2 separate regions of the Homo sapiens genome follow, and region 1 is linked to region 2. Evidence: promoter capture Hi-C in 16 types of primary human blood cells and fetal thymus (Javierre and others, 2016). All regions are on one chromosome and are shown on one strand. The core of a region is centred on a gene start or on the middle of the fragment in contact, and the rest is flanking DNA. Distances in the headings are between cores, read along the strand shown. Region 1 has its middle 59 kb from the start of SMOX. Region 2 holds the start of ADISSP (adipose secreted signaling protein).

Evidence for each region. Contacts are between HindIII fragments. The CHiCAGO score rates a contact against its expected background, and 5 or more counts as called.
Region 1: a contact is called between a fragment that was not itself captured here and the fragment with the promoter of ADISSP in region 2, in 2 of 17 cell types (total CD8 T cells and total CD4 T cells). The highest score is 5.5, in total CD8 T cells.

Annotation. Positions count from the first base shown.
Region 1 is chr20:4,087,984-4,091,114 of GRCh38, forward strand. No RefSeq gene overlaps it. Among named protein-coding and RNA genes, the nearest start is that of SMOX, 59 kb to the right of the region's middle. The HindIII fragment of the contact is 6,501 bases long and covers 1-3,131 here.
Region 2 is chr20:3,766,359-3,769,617 of GRCh38, forward strand. It overlaps ADISSP (adipose secreted signaling protein), which reads right to left and starts at 1,395. Exons shown (of 6, transcript NM_001258429.2): 1 at 1,305-1,395. RefSeq lists enhancers at 540-1,304, 1,432-2,018, 2,680-2,729 and a silencer at 1,290-1,529. The HindIII fragment of the contact is 5,584 bases long and covers 1-3,259 here.

The DNA of each region.
Region 1 (3,131 bases), core at 341-2,840, 320 kb after region 2:
TGACAGAGTGAGACTCAGTCTCAAAAAAAAAAAAAAAAAGAAAAAGAAAAAGAAAAAGAAAACCAAAAAACAAAATGAGCAACTCCCATTTTAAATTGCCTGCCATGCTGAGTAGAGTGAATCATCCCTCTGTCCAGCACGTCCATGCTGCATATTCTTCCCGCTCATTAGTCACTTGGTAGCTGTCTTGGCTGTCAGATCAACTGCTGAGGTATCGCAGTGCTTATGTTCAGGTAACCCTTACTTCATTTAATAACGACCCCTGGATGCAAAAGTGGTGATGCTTAACATCATCACAACATAATTATTATTAACAATAATAACTGAGAATAAAATAGAACAGTTGTTATAATTGTTCTATTTTATTATCAGTTATTATTGTTAACCTCTTAACTGTGCTTAATTTATGCATTATACTTTATGGTGGATATGTACATATAGAAAAATCCATAGTATGTATAGGGTTTGGTACTATCTGCGGTTTCAGGCATCCACTGGGGGTCTTGAATGTATCCCCTGCAAATAAGGGGGGGGACTAGCGTTTCTGTCTTCACCAGGCCTAGATGTGTCTTGCCTGCCGAGGAAAGATGTATAGTTAAGATGTGACAATTATCTGTCAGTTGGTGGAGTTTCACCCACTTAGTTGGTCTTCTTACTGTATTTTGAGATATCTTTATTTACAGGAGGCAAAATAGAGGTCCTGGGTCAGTCCTCAGCCCTCCACCCCCAGCCTTTATGCCTAGGAGACTTTGAGTTGATGGGGAAAGATGGTTTCTGCCCTTGGGGGACCCACACAGGGTCCTTAGTATAGAGCCTGGCGCTCCACAGGGACCCGGTATTGAATATGGGATGGAGAGGAGCAAAGAGATCCTGCCAGGGAGGTTGTAGGAAGATCAATGGGTCACAGAAGCTACAGAAGGGCACACAGTAAGGCCGTGAGAGTGGGTAAAAAGGAGTGTGGGAGCTCTCACCTGCTCTGTGCTGGGATGTGGGTACTGGTCTCCTGGGAGTGAGCAGTTGGGCCCTCACCCAGTTGGAGGGCCCAACCACAACCACGGCAAATCCCAAAGGCCAGGAACAGGGACTAATGTGGGGTCCAGGGATAAAAGCAGATTTCTGAGATACAGAAAGCCCAGGGTCTGGCCTAAGGGGCAGCTGATATGCCCAAGAGCAAGTTCAAGGGCAGAGCAAGTTCGAGTGTACTGCAGACAGCCTTGGGACAGGGACATCCAATTTCATGGGCCAAGGAGAACAGTGGAAAGTCCAGGTAGTCAGGAGCCCTTGAAAGTCTAGAGGGTGGTGGGCTTGGTTGGGATGTGGATGGACATATATATATATGTATATACATATATACACACACACCATGGTGTGTGTCTGTGTGTGTATATATATATATGTGTATATATATATACACACACATACCTGATATGTTATACCTGACATATGTTATATACATACATACATATACATATATACACACACATATATATATCTGATGGTTTTATATATATAGGGAGGTGTGTGTTTGTGTGTGTGTGTGTATATATATATGTGTATATATATGTGTATATATATGTGTATATATATGTATATATATGTGTATATATATGTGTGTGTATATATGTATATATGTGTGTATATATGTATATATGTGTATATATGTATATATATGTGTATATATATGTGTATATATATGTATATATATGTGTGTATATATATGTATATATATGTGTGTATATATATGTGTATATATATGTGTGTGTGTGTGTGTGTGTGTGTATATATATATATATATATATATATCAGTTTGCCCTTGCTGGATAACAAACCACCCCAGAACTTACTGGCTTAATGCATTAACCATTTATTATTTCTCTAGGCTTTTGCAATCAGATGCTGGGTTGGCTGGAAGCTGGCTGGTATAGCGTGGCCATGCAGCAGGCTAGTCTAGGCTTAGTCACATAGTGATTGCAGGGTTTCAGGAAAACAAATGAAAACATGCAAGATCTTATAAGGTCTTTACTTGGAACTGACAGACTGTCACTTCTGCCAAACTCTTTTGGTCAAACAACTCTCAAAGCCAAGCCTCACTTGAAAGAGTTTGGGAAAAAGTTCTGATTCTTTTGTTTGTTTGCTTTAGAGACAGGGTCTTGCTCTGTCACCCAGACTGGAGTGCGGTGGCGTAATCATAGCTCACTACAGCCTCGAACTCCTGGGCTCAAGCAGTCCTCGCAGCTCAGCCTCCCGAGTAGCTGGGACTACAGATGTGAGCCACAGCACCTGGCAAAGTTCTGCTTCTTGATGAGAGATGTTACTAAATCATATTGCAAAGGGAGGGGTGGAGAATTGCGGCCATTTTTGCAATCAATCTAACGCAACACCCACTTGTGAAAGACAGAAACCTGGGTGACATCCTGAGTCCTTCCTCCCACTTCTCCGACATCCGTTACCTCACCAAGCCAATTTGATTTTCACCCCCCAAAACGCCATTCAACTTTTCCTATTGCCACCACCCCAGTCCAAGGAACTTGTCTACCTGGTCTACTCACATTTGCTGTAGCTGTGCTCTACTATCGTGGCCACATAGCAGCCTATAGGACTTCTTCAAAGTACAAGCCAGGTCCCATCATTTCTCCCTGCCCATACCCTTCAAAGACTCTGTATTAGTCCATTCGCAGTTGCAAGCAGAAGAAACAGGCTCTGATTATGGCAAAAAAAAACACAAAAAAACAAAAAACCTAATGGAAGGGTATTGATTAGCTCACAGAATATCTTGAAGACTGGACCCAGAAATCACGCAGGCACCAAAGGTAGCAGCTGGATAGCCAAGACCACGATGAAAACCATGCTGCTGGAACATCTGGGGGACACTGTGGCCATCACCACCATGTAGCCAGGCCCCAGGATGCTGCTGCTGCCACCACTGCCAGGATGAATAGTTCACTGTCCTTGGCTTCTTGTATCACTCACTACAGGCTCAAAGAGCTGGGTGGAAGCATCTGATTGGCTAAGCCTCCAGTTTCCATTTCATTTCTGTGCTGACTCGGTCAGTGGAGGATTCCTAGGAATTCCCAGGATGAGGAAAGATGCTGGAAATTCAGTTGTTCTCAACCTTTACTGTGTTTTGCAGG
Region 2 (3,259 bases), core at 145-2,644:
TAATGTGATTTAATTTCCTTCTCCCTCCAGTGGGCCAAAGGTGCAAAGATAAGTATGGCTGTTCTCTCTCCTTCTAACAGTGAGGTGCTGGGGGTGGGGGTGGGGGAATATGGAGAAGGGACCCTCACCACCCACACCTTCCTGCCTCCCCAACAAGTGCTGCCCTCCTCTGCCCAGCATTCTCCCCACTTTGCCCTCAGCTAGTGGGTGCTTAGCCTCCAGATAGCATGCCCCACCTAGGCCCTGCCCTGGGCCTGTGATCCAGAGGTCCCAAGAAGCAGAGGCCAGGCTGGATCCAGGGGGTCAGCCAAGGTGAGGGTGGGAGCACACAGGATTATCTCCCAGGGACAGGGCTGCTGCCTCGTAGCTCAGGATGGATAGAATGTGGGGGGATATCCAGCTACATTTTCCCTCCACAAAAGACCAGAATGGGAGAGGGATGGGGTGCTGCCCCGACTTTCTTCAACTCCCCGGAGCAGAAAAATGCCCTACCTCCACTTTCCAGTGCCAAGATTCAAGAAGAAAGGCAAGCGGAGACTTCCCTTTCTCAGTCCCTGCTTACTAATGGAAACACGGGTCCAGAACCTAAATCCAGTCCCTCCTCCTTCATACCACCGGGAGGGAGGTGCAGCCCAAGCCCCCGAGGCCCCAAGGGTCCAGGTGTAGGACCCTTTATCCTCTCCGGCAGCCATCCCTGTGGGTGTGGCACCCCCGCCACACCCCATTCTTGTCATCTCAGGGGGAGGGGGGAAATGTAATCGGACATCCCCCCCATCCAATCCATCCTGAGCTGCGAGGCGGCGGCTCTGTCCCTCGGAGATAATCCTGTGCACTCCCCACCTTCACTCACCTCGGCTGACGCAGGAGTCTCCGGAGCCCGCACTCCCAGACATCACTGCCCTCCTTCCTGAGGGTGCTGAGGCTCGGAGGCTCAGAGATGCTACTGGTCCAAGGTCATGCAGCGAGGCAGCGGCAATGAACAGGGTCGTGGGGAGGAGGGGGCGCTGACCCCATTACGCCCCCGCCCTCACTACCGCACTCATGCCCCCGGACAATCGCTTCGCGGAAAACACCCCAGCTGCACCAGCTAACGGTCACTGCGCCCCGGGAACCTGACATCACTCTAGTTCAGGTGCTGGGGAGTCCTCCAGGCCCGGCCCCGACAGCGGAGCCCCCCACCCCAGCCCTGCCATCACGGCCGCTGGGGTCCCAGGCACTGACTGCTCAGGACAGGGCCGGGACCGGGAGGGGACCTCGGCGAACGGGAAGGAACCGGGAGGCAGGGAGCAGAGGGGTGGCCTCACCTTGCGGGGTGCACCCCGGGGCCGGGGAGGGCAGGGACGACCACTGCAGCGGCGGCGGCTGCAGGAGCTCAACGCCGAGCACGAGGAAGGGAGCCCCGCGCCGCGGCCGCCCTCCCGTCGGCACGCCCCCGCCTCCGCCCATTGGTTGATCTGGGAGGGTGGGGCGAGGGACGCTCCGGACCAATGAGCGGGCTCCAAAGAACGGCCAACTGGCGAGGGCCGCCTACGTCACGTGCCAGGGTCGCCGAGGCAGCGCCCTGCTAGTCCGCGCCTGCCGGGCGAGCTCTCGCGAGGAAGACGGGCAGGCGGCCCAACTAGGCCAGGGGCCAGAACCGACCACTCGAAGAGGGAGAAGGAGGGCCTCGGATAGGCCCCGCCCCCGCTCCTTCTTCCGCCTGGGGGATAGCGCCTCTAGCCTTGAACCTTGCTTAGGACGCACCTCCCTTGGGCCCTTCGCTCTCGGGAGGGCTGTCGGGCGCGTCTCGGGGCTGGGTGGAGCTCCCGAAGGTGGCCTTTCTCCCTGGGCTTCCACGCCGGCTTCGGCCATCGATACGGGCCGTGTTGGTCTCGTTCAGGAGCTGAGGAACCCTCCATCACTCCTGTTTCGACCCCAGGGTTTGGACCTCTTCCCCTTCCACCCCATCCCCTGTCTCGAAAGAAGCAACCCCCGTGCGGGCCCGAGACGCGTCCCGGGTGCCTGGCCCGGCCTGGAGAAGCATCAGAACAAAGAAGGCACGCGGGCTGGGGGCTGGGAGAGCCTGTGACGCGCCCCCGGGGACCGCAGCCTCTGCTCCCGGTCTCCATGGAGGCGGTCGCCATGGCAGCGAGATGCGCCTCGCTCAGCACCGCGGGGTGGGATGTGGGCGCCTGCAATGAGCCGAGGAGCGAGAGGCGTGGCCCTCCGGTCTGCGGGGGTTCTTGCCGGTGCTCTCCGCCCGCCGGTTCGCGAACACCCCACCTATACTTCGCCCGTGGGGACGGATTCCCCAAAGTGCCCTCAGTAAGCCGTCCGGAGCACGCAGCGCCTTGCTTCCAACGGAACTAGAGAGACGGCCTGGGCGGCCGAAGGCCAGCCTCCCTTCAGCAGGGCCGGGGTCGCTGCCTTAAAGGAGCCCTCAAGTCTGCCACCCTGTGGCCCATAACCTGTCTGCTGATCTCCAGTCTGCACACTGTTGGCAAATTAATCTTTCTGAGCTCTTGTTTTCATCGCGTCCCTCTCCTGCTCCAAAGCCCTCTGGGACTGCCTCCAGTAGCGCTTCACAAACTTCAGCAGCACTTTGGGTGACTCATGTGCCCTCGCGTTTGAGAGACAGCGCTTACATTGAGAGCTTTTCACATTCTGATCTCAGCCCATCCACTCCTGCCCACTCTACCCACTCCCACCACACTACCTTTAGACCTTGTCTTGAAAGTCTAAAGTTGGCAGACGGTGGGCCCAAAGTGGCCCGTAGGTGTATTTTGTTTAGCTCACATGGGGCTTTTTAAAAGAAGTCCTTCCCCCTCCTGCCTCCTCCGCCTCTTTCTGGAATCAGGAATCTGGTTTCGTGGCTTTTGAAATATCAGAAGATCTGACAACATGGGCTCACTTTCCAGCCTGGCATTACAAGCCCCTTTAAGAGCACATAAATTTACCATAGTCCCCGCTAATCCCTGTTTCTCACGGTTAGTTACCTTCTGGGTCTGTGCAGACATTTGTGATCCCCTCCCCCTCATTATCCCACCTTCCAACCTGGAAGGCCCTCCCCGCTCTCTTCTCATAGCCAAAATTCAAGCCCTCTTCAACCAAGATAAGTTTTGCCTATTTATTTATTTATTTATTTTTGAGACAGAGTCTCACTCTGTCGCCCAGGCTTGAGTTCAGTGGTGCCATCTCGGCTGACTACAGCCTCCACCCCCTCCCCCGCCGGGTTCAAGCCATTCTCCTGCCTCAGCCTCCCAAGTAGCTGGGATTCTAG